6 separate regions of the Homo sapiens genome follow, and all the other regions are linked to region 1. The links are contacts of gene promoters, found by promoter capture Hi-C in blood cells and fetal thymus (Javierre and others, 2016). All regions are on one chromosome and are shown on one strand. The core of a region is centred on a gene start or on the middle of the fragment in contact, and the rest is flanking DNA. Distances in the headings are between cores, read along the strand shown. Region 1 holds the start of ELN (elastin). Region 2 overlaps GTF2IRD1 (GTF2I repeat domain containing 1). Region 3 overlaps GTF2IRD1 (GTF2I repeat domain containing 1). Region 4 has its middle 35 kb from the start of GTF2IRD1. Region 5 overlaps CLIP2 (CAP-Gly domain containing linker protein 2). Region 6 overlaps CLIP2 (CAP-Gly domain containing linker protein 2).

Evidence for each region. Contacts are between HindIII fragments. The CHiCAGO score rates a contact against its expected background, and 5 or more counts as called.
Region 2: a fragment that was not itself captured here is called in contact with the fragment with the promoter of ELN in region 1 in 2 of 17 cell types (neutrophils and naive B cells); the score reaches 5.8 in neutrophils.
Region 3: a fragment that was not itself captured here is called in contact with the fragment with the promoter of ELN in region 1 in 1 of 17 cell types (neutrophils); the score reaches 6.6 in neutrophils.
Region 4: a contact is called between a fragment that was not itself captured here and the fragment with the promoter of ELN in region 1, in 3 of 17 cell types (neutrophils, naive B cells and M0 macrophages). The highest score is 7.6, in neutrophils.
Region 5: a fragment that was not itself captured here is called in contact with the fragment with the promoter of ELN in region 1 in 6 of 17 cell types (neutrophils, total B cells, naive CD8 T cells and 3 more); the score reaches 9.7 in neutrophils.
Region 6: a fragment that was not itself captured here is called in contact with the fragment with the promoter of ELN in region 1 in 2 of 17 cell types (total B cells and neutrophils); the score reaches 6.7 in total B cells.

The regions. Positions count from the first base shown.
Region 1 is chr7:74,026,403-74,030,628 of GRCh38, forward strand. It overlaps ELN (elastin), which reads left to right and starts at 1,771. Exons shown (of 33, transcript NM_000501.4): 1 at 1,771-1,867. The coding sequence starts at 1,786. RefSeq lists enhancers at 182-1,154, 2,127-3,098. The HindIII fragment of the contact is 20,716 bases long and covers 1-4,226 here.
Region 2 is chr7:74,507,729-74,511,954 of GRCh38, forward strand. GTF2IRD1 (GTF2I repeat domain containing 1) reads left to right here. Exons shown (of 27, transcript NM_005685.4): 2 at 347-475. The coding sequence starts at 353. Among named protein-coding and RNA genes, the nearest start is that of WBSCR23, 23 kb to the right of the region's middle. The HindIII fragment of the contact is 4,020 bases long and covers 1-3,792 here.
Region 3 is chr7:74,482,200-74,486,425 of GRCh38, forward strand. The region is part of intron 1 of GTF2IRD1 (GTF2I repeat domain containing 1); the gene reads left to right. Among named protein-coding and RNA genes, the nearest start is that of GTF2IRD1, 30 kb to the left of the region's middle. The HindIII fragment of the contact is 5,637 bases long and covers 1-4,226 here.
Region 4 is chr7:74,417,128-74,421,353 of GRCh38, forward strand. No RefSeq gene overlaps it. Among named protein-coding and RNA genes, the nearest start is that of GTF2IRD1, 35 kb to the right of the region's middle. RefSeq lists a silencer at 369-498. The HindIII fragment of the contact is 1,814 bases long and covers 994-2,807 here.
Region 5 is chr7:74,377,241-74,381,466 of GRCh38, forward strand. It overlaps CLIP2 (CAP-Gly domain containing linker protein 2), which reads left to right. Exons shown (of 17, transcript NM_003388.5): 11 at 3,566-3,623. Among named protein-coding and RNA genes, the nearest start is that of GTF2IRD1, 75 kb to the right of the region's middle. RefSeq lists enhancers at 3,060-3,560, 3,561-4,061. The HindIII fragment of the contact is 8,624 bases long and covers 1-4,226 here.
Region 6 is chr7:74,354,905-74,359,130 of GRCh38, forward strand. CLIP2 (CAP-Gly domain containing linker protein 2) reads left to right here. Exons shown (of 17, transcript NM_003388.5): 5 at 1,506-1,719; 6 at 2,376-2,573. Among named protein-coding and RNA genes, the nearest start is that of CLIP2, 68 kb to the left of the region's middle. The HindIII fragment of the contact is 1,747 bases long and covers 1,058-2,804 here.

The DNA.
Region 1 (4,226 bases), core at 521-3,020:
GAACACAGAGCATTTTTGATCTAGCAGAAATACAAGACCACGTTGTATTTGTCTTTGCAATAATCTCTTAGCTAGGAATACTGATCACCTGTAGACAGATAAGGAAACTGATGCTCTGTGGAGAGGTTTTCCTACCAGAAAGGCTAGAGCCAGAAATTTACTTCTAGGTCCACCAATACCTGCCTTTGACCAATGCCTGCATTTGACCTTTCCACGCTGAGCCACCCCTGCTGGCACTCCAGACTGCCACAGTGCTCCTGCCTCCACAAGGGGTCTTTAACTCATCCCTCGGAGCCATCGTGGTGCAGGGAAAAGCCCACAGGGCGTGTGGCTTCCATGCTGTTCCCTGACTGGCTGTGACCTAGGACAAGGAACAAGTTTCCCTCTCCTATTCTCTAGGTCTCACATTTCTTCTCCTCTAGCAGTAGTGGGAAGTGAGGGGTGGGGGACACGACCCTCCCCTGTTCCATCCCACACTCCAACCCCCAAAATCCCCCAGGGTCCCCGTCCAGCTCAGTCCTGGGGGCAGAAATGCAGAGTTCTCCAGGAACGTGGTCCCAGCTGTTTCAGTGCAGGCCGCCCCCTCCTGGCCACCAGCGGAATGTCAGCCTTCCCAGAGGGGCCGGGAGAACAGCAGTCGAGAAGCTCCCAGACTGGTGTGGGCGCTAGCTGTGCTCAGCGTGGGGATGGGAGGTGACCCAGTGATAATGGGAAGCTGGGCTGCCTGTCAGTCTGCGGGGGGCTCCCACCTCCCTGTTCCCCCACAGGGCACCTGGGGATCCAGCCTGATTTTTACCAGACCCTGCGGCCTGCATGGGGCTGGGTATAGGGCTGTGACCTTGACCCATGCAGAATAGAACCCTGTGTGTCGGGATCCTCCATGTGCTCCAGATGCCCCTGGGGACAGCACCAACATGGCCTTAACTCCCAAGCCATTCCCCTGCCTCTAACCCCCTGGCATCTGCAGGCATCCACCCCAGACCCACCCAACACCTCCTCCCCAGCTTCAGGCGCTAGGCAGAGACCTTGGCCCCTGCAGAATGCAGCCCTGTCCAGGGTCCCCTACCTTCCCCCCAGATCCCTCCCAGAGCAATACCAACCCGGGCCTACCTTCCAGGCCATTCAACCTGCAGCCCCCCGGCCTCTGTAGACATCGCACCCCCCAAACCCCCAGACCTGCCCAATGCCTCCCCTCCCCAGCTTTGGGCAGAACCTGTCTCTAGCCAGACCTGGGGGTGTTGGGGAGTCTGGAGGGCCGGGGTGGGGGCTGAGGCGCGGGACAGCTGGCCCGTATCCTCACACTGGGCCCGGGGCCCAGCCGGAGGGGCGGGGGCCTGGCCACTCGGGCCTTGGCTGGGGCTGGGATTTTTGGCCTGGCCGCCAGGCCCTCCCTTCTGCTTCCTCTCCCGAGGGCTGTCCTGGCAGAGGCCCCCCTCGCTCTTTCTGGCGGGAACAGGGCCAGCAGCGAAAGAACAGTCGCAGAGGGAAAGCGGGAAAGAGATGGGGGAAAGTGTGTGTGTGTGAGTGTGTGCTTGTGTGCATGTGTGTGCGTGTGTGTGTCAAGGAAAAAAGCTCGCAGTCCAGCAGCCCGGGCCTGGGAGGCTTGTGAGCCGGGCCTTTCGTAATTGTCCCCTCCCCGCGGCCCCCTCCCCCAGGCCTCCCCCCTCTCCCGCCCTCCCGCCCGCCCTCTCTCCCTCCCTCTTTCCCTCACAGCCGACGAGGCAACAATTAGGCTTTGGGGATAAAACGAGGTGCGGAGAGCGGGCTGGGGCATTTCTCCCCGAGATGGCGGGTCTGACGGCGGCGGCCCCGCGGCCCGGAGTCCTCCTGCTCCTGCTGTCCATCCTCCACCCCTCTCGGCCTGGAGGTAAGGACCCCTCGCCCCTGTCCCCAGCGCTGCCCACAGCTGCGGGCCCTTTGGGCCAGGTGACTAGACGCTCAAGGGGGAGACCTTCGTCCCTGGGAACTGCAAGGGGTCCCAGGTGGGAGCCCCTCAGCCACTGGGTCCTCGGAACTGCCCCTCCCAGGAGCCAGCCCCGTGCCCAGGAGGAACCTGTCAAAGAGACACCCTCGACTCAGAATAGTCCCAGCCCAGCATCCAGGCTTTGCTGCCCTGCGAGGGCTGAGGGGGCCCCTGCTCAGGTGCCCGGGTGCCCGCCCTGTAGGGGGATCAGAGCATCCTGGGGGAGGGCCCAGCGGGAACCCCTGGGTCTGGAGACACCACAGTCTGCACACCTGTGGACACAGCTGGGGTGCACACCAGCCCTGGGGACAGGGAACCTGGGCTTGATACCAGCTCAACCGCAGTGAGCTGTGTGACCTCAGCAGGTTCCTTGACCCCTGGGAAGCCGGGATCCCCCCGTCAGGAAGGTCAGGGCTCCGCTGAGGATGGGTTTGCAGGTTGGGAAGCTGCTGCTGTGTTCTCCCTGCTGAGGCAGGCAGGGACTCCTGGTATGCATTTGTGTGTGTGTGTGTGTGTGCATGCACACAGGAATGAGCGTGCTGTGTGCTCGTGTGTGTATGTGTGCATGCACAGGTGTGCATGTGTTCAGATGCCCGGCTGTGTCACTGAACAGGGAAAGGGATTTCTGGAGGGGTACATATGTCTGCTCACAGGTTCATCCTTAGGCAGGTGTATGCGTATGTTTGGAGGAGGTATATGAAGCTGCTCCTTAGTGTGTGCAAAAGTCTGCCACCTGACAGACATGTAGACATGTACACATGTAGACATGGGCGATCTGGCATCCAGGTGTGACACTGGTGTGGACTGTCACTGTGTGTGTTATGGAGTGTGTACATCTGTGTGTGTGAATGTGTGTGCGATGTGGCACGCAAGCATGGAAAGGCGGGCTGGAGAAGGTGTCTGTCTCCTGGCAGAGGCAGTGTGGCTGAGACAGAGGCTGGAGTGGATCCTGGGGCACTGCTGGGCCATCTGCTATGTGCCCCAACCCAGGCACAGTTGGTTATGGGGTTTGAGGGTGTGCCCTGTGGGGCTGCTATGCCGCGGCCAACGGGGGAGGACAGAAGAGGCTCCCGGGCATGGGAAAAAGGAGGGCATTTGGTAGGGGGGTCTGGGTGGAGTCTGGTTTCCTCGGGAGTCCTCCTTGCCATGAGAACCAAACGCTGAGTGGGGGGCGGGAGGGCCACGGGGTGGAGTCAAGGGCCTGGGCAGGAGCTGCAGCTGTTTCCGTGAGATTGAACAGCTTCCTGTGCAGGGTCCGCTGCTGGACCTGGATGAGGCCAAGGGACATGGGTACCCACAGGCGGGCCCCAGCAGGGGCAACGAGCCAGGGCCTGAAAGCAGCAGCCCCGGGTCCGTCTCAGCCTCCTCCCCAGGTGTAGCCCCCAAACACCCAGCCACCCTTCTTCCCAGATGGGGCCACCACCTATAGGGTGGCAGTTCATCATCAAGGAACCTTGAGAATTAGAAATTATTATCATCACTTGACAAACAAGGAAGCTGAGGCTCCGGCAGGCTAAGGCAGTCCCCGGGGGTTAGTATCAGCCAGCTCTCTGCCCCAGGTCAAGGGGCAAGGGGGTTAGGAGTGAGCTAGCAGGCAACATTTGGGGAGGGGAAGGCTTGGGGCTGAGTCCTTAAAGCAGGCATGCCCTAGGCAGAATCAGCTCTCTCCTTGTGTCCTCAGTGACACCGCTAAACGCCCAGCTGGCCTCACACTTTGCAGAGATCAATCTCAGCTCTGTCCCAGGTGGCTGGACTTGCTAGGTCCAAATAAGGGGTGTGTGAACTGATGAGCTCGTGTGGGGTTTTGCACAGAAGTGCTACTGAAGTCTGCAGAGGTCGGGGAGCCAACACAGGGAGTGGAGCGCTCAGTCACATGCTCACTGCCACTCACCTGGCTGTCCTGGGGGAGCCTGGCTTCTCCCTCAAGGAGGAGGGTGTCACTTATGCAAGTTCAGCGGCTCCAAGGAAGGAACCCTGTTGCGGGGGTGGGGGAGCAGGAGGAGGGGACAAGCCGCACAGCTCCCAGGCTGTTTCAAAAGTGAGCATGAGAAATTAACCCAGGGATAATTCTTCCCCATCCCCCAGAAATAGTATCAGGGATTTTTTTTTTTTTTTTTCCTGATTTCAGAACTGAAGATGGTTTGGAACAGAGGTTTCCTTTTCTTTTATTTTCCTTTTTTATTTTTATTTTTTTACCTTTTTTATTTTTTTTAAATTGAGACAGGGTCTCGCTGTGTTGTCCAGGCTGGTCTGAATTCCTGGG
Region 2 (4,226 bases), core at 533-3,032, 480 kb after region 1:
CCATGGAGGGTGTGTGAGCGAGGGAGGGCTGTGGCCAGAATTGCACACGCCGGGAGAGGTGGCAGTTGGGGCCTGTCCAACAGACTGGTCCTGGTGCTGGGCTCAGCTTGGGTGTGCAGACTTAGGAGGGTGTGCCACAAGGTGTGAGTTATCCTGCCACCTGTGCCCAGGCCTGTGCAGGCTCTAATCCCATCACACATAAAGCCCTTGGGCCCAGGGAAGGTCAGCCCTGGATACAGAGGCGGTCTTGGGAGTCCGGGGGTCAGGTGGATTGGGGTGGGCAGCCACCATATGAGACAAGCCCCCTGCCTTGTGCCCACCACCACTGCCTCCTCCCTCCCCACAGGCGACCATGGCCTTGCTGGGTAAGCGCTGTGACGTCCCCACCAACGGCTGCGGACCCGACCGCTGGAACTCCGCGTTCACCCGCAAAGACGAGATCATCACCAGCCTCGTGTCTGCCTTAGACTCCATGGTGAGTGTCCCCACCCACCCAAGAGGAGGGGACAGGGTGAGCGTCCCCACCTGCCTTGTAGCTCAAGTCCTACCTCAGCTACTCGAAGGAGCTTTCACTGACCTGAACCTCAGTTTATCTGACTGCAGCTAGGGCCACGATGCCTGCATCAAGGGTGTGAGATGTGAGACTTCAGCGAGATCCAGTACATAAAAATCTAGCCCTGGGGCCGGGCACAGTGGCTCATGCCTGTAATCCTAGCACTTTGGGAGGCCGGGGTCGGTGGATCACTAGGTCAGTGGTTCGAGACTAGCCTGGCCAACATGGTGAAACCCCATCTCTACTAAAGATACAAAAAATTAGCTGGGCGTGGTGGCATGCGCCTGTAATCCCAGCTACTTGGGAGGCTGAGGCAGGAGAATTGCTTGAACCTGGGAGGTGGAGGTTGCAGTGAGCCGAGGTCGTGCCATTGTACTCCAGCCTGGGTGACAGGGCAAGACTCCGTCTTAAAAAAAAAAAAAAAAAAATCTAGCCCTGGAATAAACACTGGCTCTCCGCCCTCGTCCCCTTGTCCCTTCACCCCTCTTGCCATTCCCACTTTGTCCCTGGGATGAACCACATGCCTATCTCCTAGCAGGTGACCTGGGGGATAATGTGTGGGGAGCCATTCACTAGAAAGATGTAATCCCCAACGTTAAAGCAAGAGTTCTAACTGCATCTCGGGCAGGAAGAGAGAAACCGAGCTTTGTATAATACATCACTCCCCTGGCGCTATTGCCTACATACCTAGACCTATAACAATTTATCCCAAATGAGGACATCATAATACCATTTTCCTCTAGCCTTTTCCTGGGGGGAAGTTCTGTGATGGAAGTGTTAAAAAAAAAAATCTGGCCCAGCACGGTGGCTCACGCAAGTAATCCCAGCACTTTTAGGGGCCGAGGCGGGTGGATCATTTGGGGTCAGGAGTTCGAGACCAGCCTGGCCAACATGGCAAAATCCCATCTCTAGTAAAAATATAAAAATTAGCTGGGCCTGGTGGCACATGCCTGTAATCCCAGCTACTCGGGAGGCTGAGGCAGGAGAATCACTTGAACCCTGGAAGTGGAGGTTGCAGTGAGAAGAGATAGCACCACTGCACTCCCGCCTGGGCAACAGAGGGGGACTCCGTCTCAAAAAAAAATAAATAAAAATAAAAAAATTAGACTGGCATGGTGGCACATTCCTGTAATCCTGCCTACTCAGGAGGATGAGGCAGGAGAATTGCTTGAACCTGGGAGGCAGAGGTTGCAGCGAACCGAGATCGTGCCACTGCACTTCAGCCTGGGCAACAGAGGAGACTCTCTCAATTAAAAAAATTTTTTTAAATAAAAATAAAATTAAAAATCTGTCTAACATCAGTTAGCTGCGCTCCTGCATTTTAGGATGATGAAGCACAGAGAGGGTAGTACCTTGCCCAAAGTCACACAGCATGACCAGTTTTGTTTTGTTTTGTTTTGTTTTGTTTTTGAGACGGAGTTTCGCTCTGTCGCCAGGCTGGAGTGCAGTGGTGTGATCTCGACTCACTGCAACCTCCGCCTCCCAGGTTCAAGCAATTCTCCTGCCTCAGCCTCCCCAGTAGCTGGGACTACAGGCCCCCACCACCACACGTGGCCAGATAATTTTTGTACTTTTAGTAGAGACCGGGTTTCACCATGTTGGCCAGGATGGTCACAATCTCTTGACCTCGTGATCCGCCCACCTCAGCCTCTCAAAGTGCTGGGATTACAGGCGTGAGCCACTGCGCCTGGCCCAGCAAGACCAGTTTTTAGAGCGAACTTCTGGGTACAAAGTCTCCCCGAAAAATAAAGGACCTCCTTCAAGCTGTTCCTGCTGTAGGTGGCTCAAGGGCTGCTTAAGTGGTGTTTGGGGCAGCGGTGGGAGACACCCCTGGAAAAGGGGCTGGGTGCCACACTCTCTCCATGATGACCCCTCCCCTATGCAGAGTGACTTTCATGAGGAGGGGGCCCCAGGAGCTCAGCCCTGTGTCCCAAAGTACTGTGAGCTTGGCATTGATGGAGGTGTGGCTGATGTGGGCAGTGATGGGCGATGCCATGGCCACTAGTGACATGTGGCTATTTGCAATTTTTTTTTTTTTTTTTGGAGATAGGGTTTTGCTCTGTCACCCAGGCTGGAGTGCAATGGCGCGATCTTGGCTCACTGCAACCTCCGCCTCCTGGGCTCAAGTGATTCTCCTGCCTCAGCCTCTGGAGTAGCTGGGATTACAGGTGTGCGCCACCACACCTGGCTAATTTTTTTGTATTTTTAGTAGAGACGGGGTTTCACCATGTTGGCCAGGCTGGTCTCAAACTCCTGACCTCAGGTGATCCACCTGCCTCAGCCTCCCAAAGTGCTGGGATTACAGGTGTGAGCCACTGCCCCTGATTCATTTAAATTCGAATTCGTTAAAACGAAATAAACAACTCAGTTGTTCAGTTGCACCAGCCTCATTTTACGTGCTCAGTAGTCAGAAGTGGCTGGTGTCTATGGATTGGACAGTGCAGAGGTAGAATGTTTTCATAGTCATAGAAAGTTACACTGGGTTGGCCAGGCGCAATGGCTCACGCATATAATCCCAGCACCCTGAGAGGCTGAGTGGGGCAGATCACTTGAGGCCAGGAGTTTGAGACCAGCCTGGCCAACATGGTGAAACTCCATCTCTACTGAAAATACAAAAATTAGCCAGGCATGGTGATGCATGCCTGTGGTCCTAGCTATTCGGGAGGCCGAGGCAGGAGAATCGCCTGAGCCTGGGAGGCAGAGGTTACAGTGAGCCGAGGTCGTGCCACTGCACTCCAGCCTAGGTGACAGAGCAAGACTTTGTCTCAAAAAAAAAAAAAAAAAGTTCTACTTGGCAGCAGTGGTCTAGTGAGTGTTTCAGAGCCTCCTTGGAGGAGCACATGACCCTATAGTTATCCTAGCAGTGCGAACAAGACAGGCTCCCCCGTCCCTGGGCCTTTTAAGGGTTTCCTGAGGGACCCTATGGGTGACAATGATATTTGCTTAGCAGTAACTTAAGTCCAGCCTCCTCCAAATGCTAGGGTCTTTTGGTGACCTGTAGGGAGGGTGGGCTGAAGGGATGTGCCTTCGTCACCCGCCCCCAATCTCATCCTCTTCCCCACCAGCTCTGGGTGCCTTTAGGTGGGTGAGTTTTCTGCCATGGTCTCGGCGTCTTCAGCTGAGCGGTGACTGTGGGATGAAGCAGCTCTTTCAGCTGTGATGGATGAGAAACAGCTGGATTTATTTGTTTTATTTTTTGTTAATAGTCTACAGTGTTCCCGCGCAGAAAGGGAACAGCAAGCTTTTGTTTTCATCTTAGAAGAAAATGAATGCCCTGTGTTTTAATTTTCCAGTAGGGACCCTGGAGGACAGGCTTCCTGGCCCCACGCCGCGTGCACCTTCCTAACCAGAGCGACTCCAGGCTGGGGCTGGCACAATAGGCAAGATTATGGCCCAGAGAGGTTACCTGTCCCAGGCCACGCAGCACAGAACTGCGTTTGGAAGCCAGACTTTATAGCTGCCAGCACTACCTGACTCAGATGAAAACCAGCATTTATTAGACACAACTGCCTGCCACAGGCTTCACAGTCAGGGTTTTCCTGGTGGGGTAGGTCAGAGACCTGAGATGCTGGTGGTCTTGGTTGTAGGGACCCCCTACATTAAGGCCTCTGGGCTATGGGGCTGCAGACCTCGACTCTGGGGCCATGAGGATAGCCAGCTGCCTGTATACCCA
Region 3 (4,226 bases), core at 1,113-3,612, 460 kb after region 1:
CCAATACCTGATGTCTCCTAAAACTTTTTTTTTTTTTTTTTTTTTTTGAGACGGGCCTCCTTCTGTATCCCAGGCTGGAGTGCAGTGATGCAATCTCGGCTCACTGCAGCCTCAACCTCATGGGATCAAGTGATCCTCCTGCCTTAGCCTCCCGAGTAGCTGGGACGACAGGCATGTGCCACCACACATGGCTAAATTTTAAATTTTTTGTAGAGTCAGGGTCTCTCTGTGTTGTCCAGGCTGGTCTCAAATTTCTGGGCTCAAGTGGTCCTCCTGCCTCAGCCTCCCAAAGTGCTGGGATTACGGGTGCGAGCCACTGTTTCTGGCCTTATGCACACTTTTCATTGAGAACAAAGTTATTTGTTGTAAGAGAAACACCTTGATAACTGTTCACACACTAAACTACCCAGGTAACCAGCACCCAGATCAAGAAACAGCATTGACAAGCCCCTCTCACCCCCTTCCAGTTACTACCACTCTCCCTGACCCACCACGATAACCGCCGTTCCATCTCCTGGCTTCAGAATGTGGCCTCCTTTTGAACCTTACATAAATGGAATTCTACCATGTGACCTCAGATTCTTTCATCATCCTTGCGAGATTCCACCGTGGTGTTGCGTGTCTTTGTGGTTTGCTCATACGTCTGATGCCTTTTCCAATAGACGGGGCACCCAGGAGGAGTCAGTGGAAACACATGTACCGTGGAAACAGATCAGGTCTTGCGCTGAAATTCGGATACCTCTGAATTACTGCCCATCGTCAAAGAAATAAAGTTTATTTCCCTAAAGGATGTTTTGTGGTGAATAGGAAAGAATTTGCAATCAGCGTAGCTGTTAAGCCCACAGGAGAGCAAGTTGTATTATGTTGTGAGCCTGGGTTGGGTGTGCAGAGATCTGGGGTTCAGTCTGACGCCTCTGGGCCGTGGTTTCCCTAGATGGACATGCAGGTGGTTAGATGAGGGGCCCATCTAGCTCAGTGCTGTGATGCTAAGCATATACTTCTCAGTGCTAAGAGGTTGTTTTCCAAAGTGTTTGAAGTTTGCTCTTAAGATCTTATTTAGGCCGGTCACAGTGGCTCATTCCTGTAATCCCAGCACTTTGGGAGACTGAGGCAGGATTGCTTGAGCCCAAGAATTTGAGCCCAGCCTGGGCAACATAGCAAGGCCCCATCTCTAAAAAAAAAAAAATTTTTTTTTTAATTAGCTGGGCATGGTGGCATGTGTCTGCAGTTCCAGCTACTTGCGAGGCTGAGGGAAAGAATCGCTTGAGCCCAGGAATTTGAGGCTGCAATGAGCTATGATTGCAGCACTGCACTCCAGGCTGGGTGGCAGAACAAGACTGTCTCTACAAAAAAAATTTTTAAAAATCAGGCATGGCAGCATGCACCTGTAACCCCAGCTACTTGGGAGGCTGAGGCAGGCGGATGGCTGGAGTCCAGGAATTTGAGGCTGCAGTGAGCCATGATCGTGCCACTGCATTCCAGCCTGGGTGACAGAGCGAGACTCCATCTTTACAAAACATTTTTAAAAAAATTAGCAGGGAGCTACTCGGGAGGCTGAGGCCGGCAGATGGCTTGAGTCCAGGAGTTTGAGGGTGCAGTGAGCCATAATCACGCCATTGCATTCCAGCCTAGGTGGCAGAGCAAGACTCTGTCTCTTTAAAAAAAAAAAAATCTTATTTACCAACTTGGCTCATTTCTAAGTGGAGCAAAAATGCAGTGTCTCACTTCTGCTCTGCCTGAATTACCTCCAGGCCAGATTTCTTGGTGGAAGGAAGGAGCCGTGTAGATACAGCCAGAGTCTCCCAGGTGCAAAGACCCTCTGAGAGGCCTTGATAAGTGGGCAGCTTCCACTGAGCAGCCCCCAGAGATGGAGACTCAGTGCCCACACAGCAGCTTGTTCTTCCATTCTGGGACAGTTCTTCCCATTAGGAATGTTCCCTTGTGTTGGCTGAAAGCCTGTGTCCCTAAATTCTCTGTCAGCGTAATGGCAATGAACCTGGACTTGGGTCTTCAGGAACCAAAGCCATGGAGTCAAGGATTTGGAGAGATGGTATATGCATCACCGGGCCTAACATGATGGTCTTTTTTTATTTTTAAATTGAGACAGGGTCTCACTCTGTCACCCAGGCTGGAGTGCAGTAGTGTGACCTCAGCTCACTGCAACCTCTACCTCCCAGGCTCAAGTGATCCTCCTGTCTCAGCCTCCCAAAGTACTGAGATTACAGGCATGAGCCACCACACCCGGCCATCCTTCTTTTTTTTTTTTTTTTTTTGAATTGGAGTCTCACTCTTTCACCCACCCAGGCTGGAGCGAAGTGGTGCGATCTTGGCTTACTGCAACCTCCACCCTCCGGGTTCAAGCAATTCTCCTGCCTCAGCCTCCCGAGTAGCTGTGATTACAGGCACCTGCCACCACAGCCAGCTAATTTTTGTATTTTTAGTAGAGACGAGATTTCACCATGTTGGCCAGGCTGGTCTCAAACTCCTGACGTCAGGTGATCCACCCGCCTCAGCCTCCCAAATGTTAGGATTACAGTCATGAGCCACTGCACCCAGCCTGTCTTTCCTTTTTAAGGCTCAGTAATATTCCATTGTATGGATAGACTGTGGTTTTTTATCCATTCATCATCGGACGCTGGGACGGTTTCTGCCTTTTGGCTATTGTGAATACTGATCCTATGAACATGGCTGTACAGATGTGTCTTTGAGACTATTACTGTTTTATTAACAACATTGCTGTAATGAGGGATCTCAAATCTGGAGTGGATCTGAGAAATCGCCTCTTTCAACCCCTTATCCAATGCTTGAGTCCTTCCTTCCAGAATCCCACTGAGACTTCTTCTGGCCTCAGATGCGTGGGTGGGAGACATGCCACCTCCCGACACCTCTGACCAAGGGCCCGGAGCTGGGTGGCTTAGGGTGCAGGAAAGAGGCTTGTGAGTGGGATCATGCCAGAGGGATGTGCATCAAGGCATCCTCTAGCTACAGATGCCCCAGGGGAGGCAGCAGTGGGGCTGCTGCAGGAGAAACCTGGAATGGATGTTTGGACACACTTTCCTCAATGGCCAGGATTGATGGACAGTGGAATTCATCAGACGAGTCTTGGAGACTGAGGCCTTTAAAAATAGATGCAGCTGGCTGGGTGCGGTGGCTCACGCCTGTAATCCCAGCACTTTGAGAGGCCGAGGCGGGCGGATCACGAGGTCAGGAGATCGAGACCATCCTGGCTAACACGGTGAAACCCCGTCTCTACTAAAAACACAAAAAATTAGCTGGGCGTGGTGGCGGACGCCTGTAGTCCCAGCTACTCGGGAGGCTGAGGCAGGAGAATGGTGTGAACCCAGGAGGCGGAGCTTGCAGTGAGCCGAGATAGTGCCACTGCAGTCTGGCCTGGGTAAAAGAGCAAGACTCCATCTCAAAGAAAAAAAAAAAATAGATGCAGCTGGGAGCAGTGGCTCACACCTATAATCCCGGCACTTTGAGAGGCCGAGGCAGGTGGATCACTTGAGGGCAGGAGTTTGAGACCAGCCTGGGCAACATAGCAAGACTCTGTCTCTACTAAAAATTTTTTAAAAAATTAGCCGGGTATGGTGGCGCAATCATGTAGTCCCAGGTACTCGTGAGCCTGAGGCAGGAGAATTGCTTGAGTCCAGGAAGGTGGGGCTGCAGTGAGCTATGATCGTGCCTCTGCACTCCAGCCTCGGTGACAGAGTGAGACCCTGTCTTTAAAAAAAAAGAAGAAGAAAGAAAAGAAAATGCCTCCCATGGAATCTGTTTCTTTTTTTTTTTGAGATGGAGTCTTGCCCTGTCACCCAGGCTGGAGTACGGTGGCATGATCTTGGCTCACTGCAACCTCCGCCTCCCAGGTTCAAGCAGTTCTCCTGCCTCAGCCTCCTGAGTAGCTGGGATTATAGGTGCCCAACACCACGCCCAGCTAATTTTTGTATTTTTAGTAGAGATGTGGTTTCACCATGTTGGCCAGGCTGGTCTCGAACTCTTGACCTCAAGTGATCCGCCCACACCGCCGTGGAGTCTATTTCTGTTAGGAATGTGTTTGTTGCAAGCAACCTGAGAAACAGAGGCTTAGGAGAGAGGGGTGTCTCGTGTAACAGGAGGCATGGGTGGGTGGTCCAGCCGCAGGCAGCTGCTCAGGCACATCTGAGGGGCCTGCGCCATCTCTCTCTCTCTCCTCTGGCTGAGGGCTTTGGTCATCCTGGCCTAAAGTG
Region 4 (4,226 bases), core at 651-3,150, 390 kb after region 1:
TCATTTGAGGTCAGGAGTTCTAGACCAGCCTGGCTAACAGGGTGAAAACCCATCTCTACTAAAAATACAAAAATTAGCCGGGCGTGGCGGCAGGCGCCTGTAATCCCAGCTACTTGGTTGGCTGAGGCAGGAGAATGGCTTGAGCCCAGGAGGCGGAGGTTGCAGTGAGCCCCGCTGCACTCCAGCCTGGATGACAGAGCAAGACCCCGTCTCAAAAAAATAAACTGGGACTTCTCTTGCCCCACTTCTCTTTGCTCTGCCTGAGAGGGAGACATTGATCAAACCCTCCAGGTCTGATCGGGAAACATTTGCCTTCTCCTTTTGTGGGGTCCTGGGGTGAAGAACAGGAGGGGAGGCTGGAGGGTGGGTGACACCACGCACCCCTGGGCGGCAAGAGACCCACCAGCCAAGTCTTGCCTGTGATGCCTCCCATTTACCAGCAGGTGTCACCCTCGGCCCTCTCACTGCGGCTTGTCCATTCCACCCTCTGTCCAGACTGGGCTTTAGGGCTGCAAGGCTGGAGACACAGGCCAGCTTTGCACGTGGGAGCAACAACGGGGACCCAGGTGTCCCGGCTCCTAGTCCCAGAGCTCCCTGTCCCTGTTGCCTCCCAGACTTGGTTCAGGCCTCTCTGTGAGTATCCGTGTGTGTCCACACTTCCATCCCTGGGAGAGAGGCCGGCCAGGGCGTGGACATTCATTCCCTCTCTGGGACCGTGCCGGGCCAGGACTGTCCTGGCCTCCCTCCTCCCGCACAGCACTGCCTCCCCTCCCCGCAGGCTGGGCTCCCTCCACAGAGCTGACCCTGGCCTACTTTCTCAGTCCTGAACCCTCCCATCACGTCCCCCTTGCCAACCTCAGCTGGGCAGTCACCCTGGTCCCGCTCCCACTCCCCAAGAGAGGCTGGGAAGTGTTTTGAGACTGAAGTTGGGGTCCAGTGTAAATTCAGAAGGAACATGGTATAGGACGAATAACCAGGATGCTCACTTCTAGAAGCTTCTCTGGAACCTTGGGTAAGGCTGTGGGCCCTTTCTCTGGAGCTACCAGCAAAGGGAAGGACTTGCTGCCTCCAGGGTGGCTCCAGCCCCGTCTAGACCCCCTCCCAGCCACCCTCTCCCGCTGCCACAATTTCCAGCTGGCCCCACGCACAGCTGTGCCTCGGTTTCCCAGCAGCCCCAAGCCTGGAGTTCACCAGGAGCACCTTCACAGCCCCGCACCGGGTCCGCAGCCTGGGGTCCATCATATTCATCACACTCTGGGCCCTGTCCCCCACCCCCAGCTCAGGCCTCAGATCCTGCCTCCAACCCCACACCCCCAGGCCTTTCCAAGTGACCCACACACATGCATGGGCACACACACACAGATACATACACACATACACAGAGACACACATACATGTACACATCATATATATATACACGCACACAGAGACACATATAAACATGCACACACGTACACACATACATGTACACACGTACACACATGCATACACATATACATACACAAACACATACATACACAAACACTATAGACACGTACACAGACACACACAAATACGTACACATACACAAAAACTCATACACATACACAAACACGTACATACACAGACACACAAACACTACAGACACATGTACACACGGACAAATACACATACACACAGACACACATACATGTACACATATACACATGTACACAGGTACACACGCACATACACACGTTACACACAAAGAGATGTATACTCACATACACAAACATGCACATATATACACACAAACAATATACATACACATACACATACACACACGCATATACATGCATATACATCCACACTTGTGCACACATACACACATGCACACACACACACTTTTTCTTCACGGCCTGCAGAGACGCGCCCATCGGGGACTTGATTCACACCTCTCTCCCTAGAGGGGAGTGCTCTGTGTGCACCGCAACATATCTCTAACCTCTTTTTTTAAATTGACAAAAATTGTATCTATTTATGGTGTGCAATATGATGTTTTGAAATATGTATAAAGTGTGGACCAGCTACATCAAGCTAATTAGCATATGCATTACCTCATTTGTCTTTTTGTGGGGAGTGTGCTGAGAACGCTTAAAATCCACTGTCTTGGTACTTTGCAAGTTTAGAACACATTGTTATCAAGGATAGCCACCATGTTGTACTTGGATCTCTTGAACTTAGTCCTCCTAACTGAAATTTTTGTGTGTTTTTTTCCTTGTGTGTGTGTGACAGAGTCTCACTCTGTTGCCCAGGCTGGAGTGCAGTGGTGCAATCAGCTCACTGCAGCCTTCATCTCTGGGCTCAAGCCGTCCTCCTGCCTCAGCCTTCCAAGTAGCTGGGACTACAGGTGTGCACCACCATGCCCAGCTAATTGTTTGTATTTTTAGAGAGATGGGGTTTTGCCATGTTGCCCAGGCTGGTCTCGAACTCTTGGGCTCAAACGATTGGCCTGTCTCAGCCTCCTAGATTGCTGGGATTACAGGCATGAGCCACCACTGCCACCCCCACATCTCTGACTCTCAGCCCAGGGCGTGGCACACAGGTGCCCACGAGTGGCTGTCAGACGGATTGATCAATTCCACCACTGCACAAACTTCCATCTTCAATCTTGCACTCCACCTCAACTGCTCTCCCAGAGCTCCAGACACTGCCAGGTTGCCCCCGCATCCTGACAAACTGTCCTCTTTCTGTACCCTTTCCAAGTCATCTAATTGTCCTCATTTTTGTTTTTTTTTTTTTTTTTTTGTAATTTGAGTTTATTTGACCATCTTGATCCGAAATGTTCAAGCTTTTGGCTATAGTTTTCTTCATTTATTTATTCAATATTTTTTAGTAACTCTATTAATTAATTGATTTCCTTCCTTCCTTCCCTCCCTCCCTCCTTCCCTCCCTCCCTCCTTCCCTCCCTCCCTCCTTCTCTTCTTCCTTCCCTCCTCCCTCCCTGCCTCCTTCCTTTCTGCCCACCCACTTTCTTTCTTTCCTTCTTTCTTTCTTTTTCTTTCTTTCCTTTCTTTCTTTCTTTTTTCTTTCTTTTTCTTTCCTTCCTTCTTTCTTTCTCTTTCTTCTTTCTCTTTCTTTCTCTCTTTCTCTCTCTTTCTTTCTTTCTCTTTCCTCCCTTCCTTTATCTCTTTTTCTTTCTTTCTTTTTCCTTCTTTATTTTGAAGTGGAGTCCCGCTCTGTCACCCAAGCTGGAGTGCAGTGGCGCAATCTCTGTTCACTGCAACCTCTGCTTCCCGTGTTCAAGCGATTCTCCTGCCTCAGCCTCCCAAGTAGCTGGGATTACAGGCATGCGCCACCACGCCCAGCTAATTTTGTATTTTTAGTAGAGTCAGGGTTTCACCATGTTGGTTAGGCTGGTCTCAACTCCTAACCTCAGGTGATCCACCCAGAATTGTTTTCTTTAAAACAACTTTTCTGTACTGGACATGGTGGCTCACACCTGTAATCTGGCACTTTGGGAGGTCGAGGCGGGAGGATTGCTTGAGCTTAGGAGTTCGAGACCAGCCTGGGCAACATGGTGAAACCCCAGGCATGGCGGCACATGTCTGTAATCCCAGCTACTGGGGAGGCTGACGTGGGAGGATCACCTGAGTCCAGGAGGCCGAGGCTGCAGTGAGCCATGATCATGCCACTGCCCTCCAGCCTGGATGACAGAGCGAGACCCTGTCTCAAATAAATAAATAATAAATAAATAAATAAAGCTGTTTTTCTTTCTTTCTTTCTTTCTTTCTTTCTTTCTTTCTTTCTTTCTTTCTTTCTTTCGTTTGTTCTTTCTTTCCTTCCTTCTTTCTTTCTTTTATTTCAGTCCTCTTTACTTGAAAGTTTATCTCTTGTTCAGAAAATAAATATGGGCCAGGTGCGGTGGCTCATGCCTGTAATCCTAGCACTCTGGGAGGCTGAAGCAGGAGGCTCACTTGAGCCCAGGAGCTGGAGATCAGTCTGGGCAACATAGTGAGACACTGTATCTTTTTGGGGATTTTTTGGACAGAGTCTTGCTCTGTCGCCAGGCTGGAGTGCAGTGGCGTGACCTTGGCCCTCGGCTCACTGCAACCTCTGCCTCCTGAGATCAACTGATTCTCCTGCCTCAGCCTCCTGAGTAGCTGGGACTACAGGTGTGCGCCACCACACCCAGCTAATTTTTTTGTATTTTTAGTAGAGACAGGGTTTCACCATGTTGGCCAAGATGGTCTCAATCCCTTGACCTC
Region 5 (4,226 bases), core at 636-3,135, 350 kb after region 1:
CAACTTAGAAGCTCACCTGGGGAATCAGCGGCAGCCCCCTTTCTGCCAGTCCTAATGAGACTTTAGCAACGGTGCCAACGAGTACTTCCCCAGAATGTGGGAGTTCCCGGAGTGGGGTCTGGAAGGCTAGAGGGGGTGGCCCTAAAGAGGTCGCTGTCACCAATGTCAATTTTGCTCCAAATCTAGAAATTCCTTAAGCATCTACCCCTTCTTCCTTCAGCTGAACCCATCCTCCCAGCCCCTCTGAGGAGGTCAACACCCAGGTGGGCTGTGCCCACTCCACCAGGGCCAGGAAGGGCCTTTTGAGTGGCTCTGGGTACCACGTCTTATGCCAGGCCCTATGTGACTCCATTTCACCTTAACATCCTTAGATTGATACTGGCTCCATTTCACAGGTGAGCAAACCAAGACTTTCCCAGGTCCACAGCCTCTCAGTGGCAGAGATGTTCAACCCCATTCCCTGTGGGGCTGACAGAGAGTGCCCAAGACAACAGGAATTAATTCATAGGAGGGATGGCTAGCAACGGACTCTTGCCTGTATACAAATTGTACTCAGAGATTCTTGAGTTTCCAGTTCCCCCACATACATTTTTTTTTTTTTTGAGATGGAGTTTTGCTCTTGTTGCCCAGGCTGGAGTGCAGTGGTGGGATCTCGGCTCACTGCAACCTCCGCCTCCCAGGTTCAAGCAATTCTCCTGTATCAGCCTCCCAAGTAGCTGCAATTACAGGCATGCACCACCACGCCCAGCTAATTCTTATATTTTTAGTAGAGGTGGGGTTTCGCCAGGTAGTCCAGGCTGGTCTCAAACTCCTGACTTCAGGTGATCTGCCCGCCTCGGCCTCCCAAAGTGCTGGGATTACAGGCGTGAGGCACCATCCCTGGCCTTTTTTTTGGTTTTGTTTTTGAGACAGGGTCTTGTTCTGTCTCCCAGGCTGGAGTGCAGTGGCATGATCATGGCTCACTACAGTCTCAACCTCCCAGGCTTGAGCGAGCCTCCCACTTCAGCCTTCCAAGTCGCCAGGACCACAGGTGTGCCCCACCACACCTGGCTAATTTTTATAGTTTTTGTAGAGATGGGGTTTCCTCATGTTGCCCAGGCTGGTCTCAAACTCCTGGGCTCAAGCTGTCTGCCCGCCTTTGCCTCCCAAAGTGCTGGGATTACAGGGAGTAGGTACTGCACCTGACCACCCTCATGTATATTCAAACCAGAATTTAGGGGTGGGTGTGGTGGCTCACACCTATAATTCCAGCATTTCGAGAGGCTGAGGCAGGAGGATTGCTTCAGGCCAGGAGTTTGAGACCAGCCTGGACAACATAGTTAGACCCCATCTCTACAAAAATAAAAAATTAGCCGAGTACAGTGGTAGTGTACCTGTAGTCCCCAGCTACGCTGGAGGCTGAGGCAAGAGGATCACTTGAGCCCAGGTGTTTGAGGCTGCAGTGAGCTATGATTGCACCACTGCACTCCAGCCTGAGTGACAGTGTGAGGCTGTGACTCAAGAAAATACACAAACCAAAAAAACCCGAGAATTTAGCATGTGGGCAGTAAGTTCTCAGGACTAATGAATCCAGGGGGCTTTTTTTGTCTAAAAGGAAATCTTTTTGCATCATGCCTTGAGGTCCCTTGTAATGGCCTTCCTGCCCCTTCTCCCAGGAAGGGATTTTGTTTTTTAGCAAGTGCTCTTCCAGGATCCTGGGCTGAAAGAAAAGGAAGAAACCCAAATTAGCTTACGTGCACATGGCCTGATTAGCTGTTCAGGGCAGGCAGAAACAGCCTGCAACTCAGGAACTGAATTCCCTGAGCGGGGAGGTTTGAGGTTGCTGTGGTTCCACAGAGCATGGGGGACAGAGGCCTGAGGATGCCTCCCCCAGTCCCTGCCCCTCATTCACAGGTGCCCTTGGACCAAGAAGTAGTAGTGGCCCCAGAAAGCCCATCTCCTGGCCGGGCGCGGTGGCTCACACCTGTAATCCCAGCTACTCAGGAGGCTGAGGCACAAGGATTACTTGAACCCGGGACGTGGAGGTTGCAGTGAGCCAAGATCGTGCCACTGCACTCCGGCCTGGGCAACAGAGGGAGACTCCGTCTGGAAAAAAAAAAAAAAGCCCATCTCTTGATTTTCTGTATACACTGGGGCTTAGTCTAAACGCATATGTCCCCATGTTCAGAGGTTTAGGCCTAAGCACAACTGGACTTTTGGTCTCAGGTAGTAAATATGGGAATTTTAAAAATTATTTTAGTGGCCAGGTGCTGTGGCTCACACCTGTAATCCCAGCACTTTGGGATGCCAAGGCAGGTGGATCACCTGAGGTCAGGAGTTTGAGACCAGCCTGGCCAACATGGTGAAAACCCGTCTCTACTAAAAATACAAAAAATTAGCCGGGCATGGTGGCGGGCGCCTGTAGTCCCAGCTACTCGGGAGGCTGAGGCAGGAGAATCGCTTCAGAGTCCTGGAGGCAGAGGTTGCAGTGAGCCGAGATCACGCCACTGCACTCCAGCCTGGGCGACGGAGTGAGACTCCATCTCAAAAAATAATAATAAAAAAACCCCAAAATTAGCTGGGCGTGGTGGTGGGCACCTGTAATCCCAGCTACTCGCTCGGGAGGCCGAGGCAGGAGAATCGCTTGAACCCGGGAGGTGGAGGTTGCAGTGAGCTGAGATTGAGCCATTGCACTCTAGCCTGGATATCAGGGCGAGACTCCTTCTCAAAAAAAAAGAAAAAGAAAAATTTAGTGTGAGCCTCATTACTGCATCGTATATAAATTATGATCCAAGGGGCTTAGTTCATTACAACTAATTGAGACTCAAATGGGACTTGGGATGTATGAACAGAAGTATGAGGGGCAGGATGATAGAGGTGACTGCCTACTCAGCTCTGTGCTTCCCTGATCTGCAGTGCCAGACTCTGGCTGGCTCGGAGGACAGCCAGCCTGGGCAGGAGACTGGAAACTCCTGCCAAGAGTGGCAGGGAGCCTATTGGTTGTGTTTTGACTTTTGTCATAGTGATGTGTGCCAGGCTGATTTTTTTTTTTAATAGGTCTTTTCTTCTTTGGCCTCTGGGTTTATTATTAAAAAGAAATGTTGGAGAGAAAGAAGCTAGCATTTAATGAAGTCCCTCCAGGAGGTGGCCCCAAGCACGCTGTGCACACACTAACCCAAAGCAGCCAATATTTGTTTGATGGATGGGAAACTGAGGCCAGAAGTCTTGTCTCTGGGAGACAGAGAAACAAATTCCCAGGACAAATTTCTGTAGGCATTGCAGGGAAGGAGCCATCTGTTTAATATAATAAACATTTTCAACAAAGGAAGGGTAGGAGGTATTCATGTATAAGCTGCACAGGCGGCCTTCAGCAGAGCTGGGTGCAGAATGGGGGTCCTCTGTTGTCAGGGAGGTCCGACTGAGGACGTCTGCACTCCCTGCCACCGCAGCAAGTCCCTGAGTCCGTCACTGAGGTCCCCCTTTGTAGGAGTAGGGTGTGCAAACTGCAGGTGTGCTTGCTGGGCTGGCTGGGGCTGGGGCCAAGGGGCAGAGGTGAGCATCCCCCTTACAGGGGCTCTTTTTGCAGATGATTGAGTCGAATGACATTTCAGAGGAGACGATCAGGACGAAGGAAACTGTGGAGGGTGAGTGGCCACCAGGCCGGGCGGGACTCTGGGCTCTGGGAAGAGGCTGGCTGGCTCTGCCTTCCTGCTGGGTCACATTTTGGTTTGCATCATCTGCCATTTGGTAAGAGTCACCTCCTGTGTGCTGTGAGCTATGTACTCCTGCAAGGGAGGAGGCCAGTTTACGGAGGGATAGGCATTGCACCAGCCTTCCAAGTTGCTGTCTTTTTTTTCTTTTTCTTTTGAAACAGATTTAACGGAATAGTAAACTTAATGGAATATCAAACCTTATTATTTGTTTGGTTTATATTTTATTTTTATTTATTTATTTAGTTTATACTTTACTTTTATTTATTTATTTATTTTAGACGGAGTTTCGCTCTGTCGCCAGGCTGGAGTACAGTGGTGTGATCTCAGCTCACTGCAACCTCCAACTCCCTGGTTCAAGCGATTCTCCTGCCTCAGCCTCCCGAGTAGCTGGGATTACAGGCATGCACCACCATGCCCAGCTAATTTTTGTATTTTTAGTAGAGACGGGGTTTCACCATGTTGACCAGGGTGGTCTCGATCTCCTGACTGCGTGATCCGCCCGCCTTGGCCTCCCGAAGTGTTGGGATTACAGGC
Region 6 (4,226 bases), core at 681-3,180, 330 kb after region 1:
TCACAGATGGGTTCCAGGTCTCACAGCATCTCTGATGAAAAGGAATTGACTGCTGGCGTTGCTGGGTTAGGAGGGTCTAAGGCTGTGTCTGGGCTTATGGTAGGTGGGGGAGTGATGTGGTAAGTGGACCATGTCTGTCACGGATGTGGACTAAGGTGAGGCCACCTGAGTCCCTGTGCAGTCCCTGTACTGGAGTCTGTGGTTGAGACGAGGCTGTGACTGCTTTGAGCAGGAGTGGTCACCATGGCACAGGGGAAGAGCTAGGCTTGGACCAGGCCTCGAAAGAAGGTAGGGTTTCCTTTTGGAAGAGGCTTGAGAGAGGCTGTGCTAGGCAGGGGCTGAGAGCACAGTATGAACAAAGACCTGGAGGTGGGAAAAGGCAGAATGGGGCAGCGGTTTCAAGTGAATCAGAAGCTGGATGGGGGCCAGGCATGGTGACTCATGTTTGTAATCCCAGCACTTTGGGAGGCTGAGGCTGGAGGATCACTTGAAGCCAGCAGTTAAAGACTAGTCTGGACAATATAGCAAAACCTCATCTCTACAAAAGATACAAAAATTAGCTGGGCGTAGTAGCACACACCTGTGGTTTCAGCTACCTGGGAGGCTGAGGTGGGAGGATTGCATGAGCCCAGGAGGTTGAGGCTGCAGTGAGCTATGATCGCACCGCTGCACTCCAGCCTGGGTAACAGAGCCAGACCCTGTCTCGAAAGAAAGAAAAAAACTGGATGGGCCCAGTTCTCGTGGTCCAGTGTGGAATCCGTGACCAGAGAGGTCTTGACAGAAGACGAGAATCCAGGGTTTCCATAACAATGCTTTGCCTTCCTGTTTGCAAGATGAATGTTTCTTTTGACTCACTTTTGCTTTCAGAATTCAGGGGTGGGTTGGACAGCAGTCCCCATCCCACCCCAAGGTTTCTCTTTCAAGCTTTTGCTTCTCTATGCAGGGATTCTGTGGGCAGAGAGCTGATGGGAATCCTTCATTCTGGGGATGGTCTGAGGGTAGCCTGAAAGTGGGGCTGCAGCTGTGGCTGGGGTCTCTGAACAGTCTGTGGGAGCCAAGCTTAGCGGGTGTTGGAGCCCAGCACACTGGAGGACCAGTCTCAGCTTTGCTGCGTAACCAGCTGTGTGACTGTGGGCAAGTTATTTAACCTCTCTGAGCCTAAATTTTCTCATTTGTGAATGTAGATAACTTTGGGGGATGGAAATGAGCATTCATTTAAAGAGACTGGCACAAAGTGGGTCCCAGTAATTATTTCCTACTTCCAAGAGTATTCTCATTGGCTGTTCACAGCTGCAGAGACTCTCAGACCCTACTCACCTATATCCTTTTTTTGAGAGTCCTATCTCTCCACCTGGAAGATTTCCACCTTGGAGTGTCTTTCCACATGGGCCCCAAGGAGGTGTCTTTCTCTCTTTCTGCCAGGCTCTGAAGAGGCAGAGGAGGCAGGGGAGGCTCTCCAGGCTTTGGGGCCGTGACAGCAGCTTGGGTCTCTCCTGCTTCCACAGGTACTTCCAGTGCCCACCCAAGTTTGGTCTCTTCGCGCCCATCCACAAAGTGATCCGTATCGGCTTCCCATCTACCAGCCCAGCCAAGGCCAAGAAGACCAAGCGTATGGCCATGGGTGTGTCAGCACTGACCCACAGTCCCAGCAGTTCCTCCATCAGCTCCGTCAGCTCTGTGGCCTCCTCCGTGGGGGGTCGGCCCAGCCGCAGTGGCCTGGTGAGGGTGGGGCTGCAGAAGGGGATTCTCTGGTGTGCGTTTGGGAGGGGTGAGGATGTAAGAGATCCAGGTGTTCTGGTCTGCCCCTGACTTACTCTAGTTCCAGTTTGGGATTTTTGAACAAAGAAGAAAGTGCATATCTTTTAATAGGGAAAATTGAGCCATTTACCTTTATTGCTGTTTTTATATAACTGATTTATTGGAACCCTAAGCCTTTCTCTGGAAGTTAAGGAGGGTTATACAGATGCAGGGCAGGGAGTTCAGAAAGGTTGGCATCAAACCCTGGATGAAGGGAAAAGAGGAGGCTGCTTGGTGGCTATGGGCAGAGGGCATTCTGTCCAAACCCAATCTAGGATTGGAGGTTCCTCCTTTCCCAGGAAAAAGTGGCCAAAGTGAGGGAGTCAGAGGCTCTGGCTATCAGGAGCTGACTCTCCTGAGATGGGGAGTTTCCTGAATCTCAAACATCAAGATTCCCCGCTGGGTGAGTCAGCAGGGGCCAGGATGTCAGAGTACTGGCAGGGGAAGAGCAGGACCCTGGGAGTCAAGGCACTTGGGCTCCCACCTGCTATGTTGCTGTAGATTAGGCTGGACAGAGCCAGTCTGCCCTGCAGTGCTTCAGATCCCTGAGACCCGCCTGCATCCACACCTTCCTGCAGCTCACGGAGACCTCTTCACGCTACGCCCGCAAGATCTCGGGCACCACGGCCTTGCAGGAGGCACTGAAGGAGAAGCAGCAGCACATTGAGCAGCTGCTGGCTGAACGAGACCTGGAACGGGCTGAGGTGGCCAAGGCCACAAGCCACATCTGCGAGGTGGAGAAGGAGATTGCCCTGCTCAAGGCACAGCATGAGCAGGTGAGTGGCAGGTGGGGCTGGGGGCAGAGCTTCTCCAGCCAGCCTCATAGAGTCTCACCCACTCAGAGCGGAGACCCTGGAGGGGGTGGGTGCAGAGAAATATGAAGATAACACAAGCAGTACCTGTCCCCCGCTTTCCAGAGATAAGCCTCAGTGACCTGGTGAATTTCCTTCCAGTCTTTTCTGCCTATGTATAAGGATACATACACCTACTTTCAGAATCTGGTTACAAGCTTGTATATCCTGCTTTTTAATTATTTATTTATTTATTATTTTTCTTTCTTTCTTTTTTTTTTTTTGACGGAATCTCATTCTGTCACCCAGGCTGGGGTGTAGTGGTGCAATCTCGGCTCACTGCAACCTCCACCTCCTCGGTTCAAGCGATTCTCCTGCCTCAGCCTCTTGAGTAACTGGGATTACAGGCATGTGCCACCATGCCCAGCTAATTTTTGTACTTTTAGTAGAGACGGGGTTTCACCATGTTGGTCAGGCTGGTCTCGAACTCCTGACCTCGTGATCCACCCGCCTTGGCCTCCCAAAGTGCTGGGATTACAGGTGTGAGCCACTGCAAGGGTTTTTTTTTTTTTTTTATGAGACAGAGTCTCACTCTGTTCCCCAGGCTGGAGGGCAGTGGTGCAATCTCAGCTCACTGCAACCTCCACCTCCCAGGTTCAAGCGATTCTCCTGCCTCAGCCTCTCAAGTAGTTGGGATTACAGCACCTGCTACCAAACCAGGCTAATTTTTGTATTTTAAGTAGAGATGGGGTTTCACCCTGTTGGTCAGGCTGGCCTGGAATTCCTGACCTCAAGTGATCTGCCTGCCTTGGCCTCCCAAAGTGCTGGGATTACAGGTGTGAGCCACCATGCCCAGCCCTGCTTTTTTATTTTTTTAAAATATTTTTAATATAGGGATGGGGTCATGCTGTGTTGGTCAGCCTGGTCTCGAACTCCTGGCCTCAGGCAATCCTTGGCCTTCCAAAGTGCTAGGATTACAGGTGTGAGCCACTGCACTTGGCCTAATCTGCTTTTCTTCCCCGGCTACTTATTATACTGCAAGCATTTTCTAGGTCCTGGCAAATTCCTCATCATTCTTTTTTTTTTTTATTTTATTTTTTTCTTTTAGAGATAGGGCCTTGCTTTGTTGCCCAGGTTGGAGTGCAGTGACGCCATCATAGCTCCACTCCTGGGTTCAAGTGATCCTCCCACCTCAGCCTCCTGAGTGGCTGGGACTATAGGTGCACGCTACCACATCCAGCTAAATTTTGTATTTTTTTGTGGAGACGGAGTCTTGCTATGTTGCCCAGGCTGGTCTGAAACTCCTGGCCTCAAGTGACCCTCCCACCTTGGTCTCTCAAAGCACCGCGATTATAGGCATAAGCCATCGTGCCCCACCTCTTCCCCATCTTGATGTCTGCATTGCTGTCTATCACAGGCTTTGTCCTTACTGACATCTGACGTGACTAGTCCCCTGTTGTTTAGATTATTTCCCATTTTTCACTTTTTTTGAGACAGAGTCTCGCTCTGTCACCCAGGCTGGAGTGCAGTAACACGATCTTGGCTCACTGCACCCTCTGCCTCTGGATTCAAGCAATTCTCCTGCCTCAGCGTCCTTAGTAGCTGGGACTACAGGTGTGTGCCACCACGCCCAGCTAA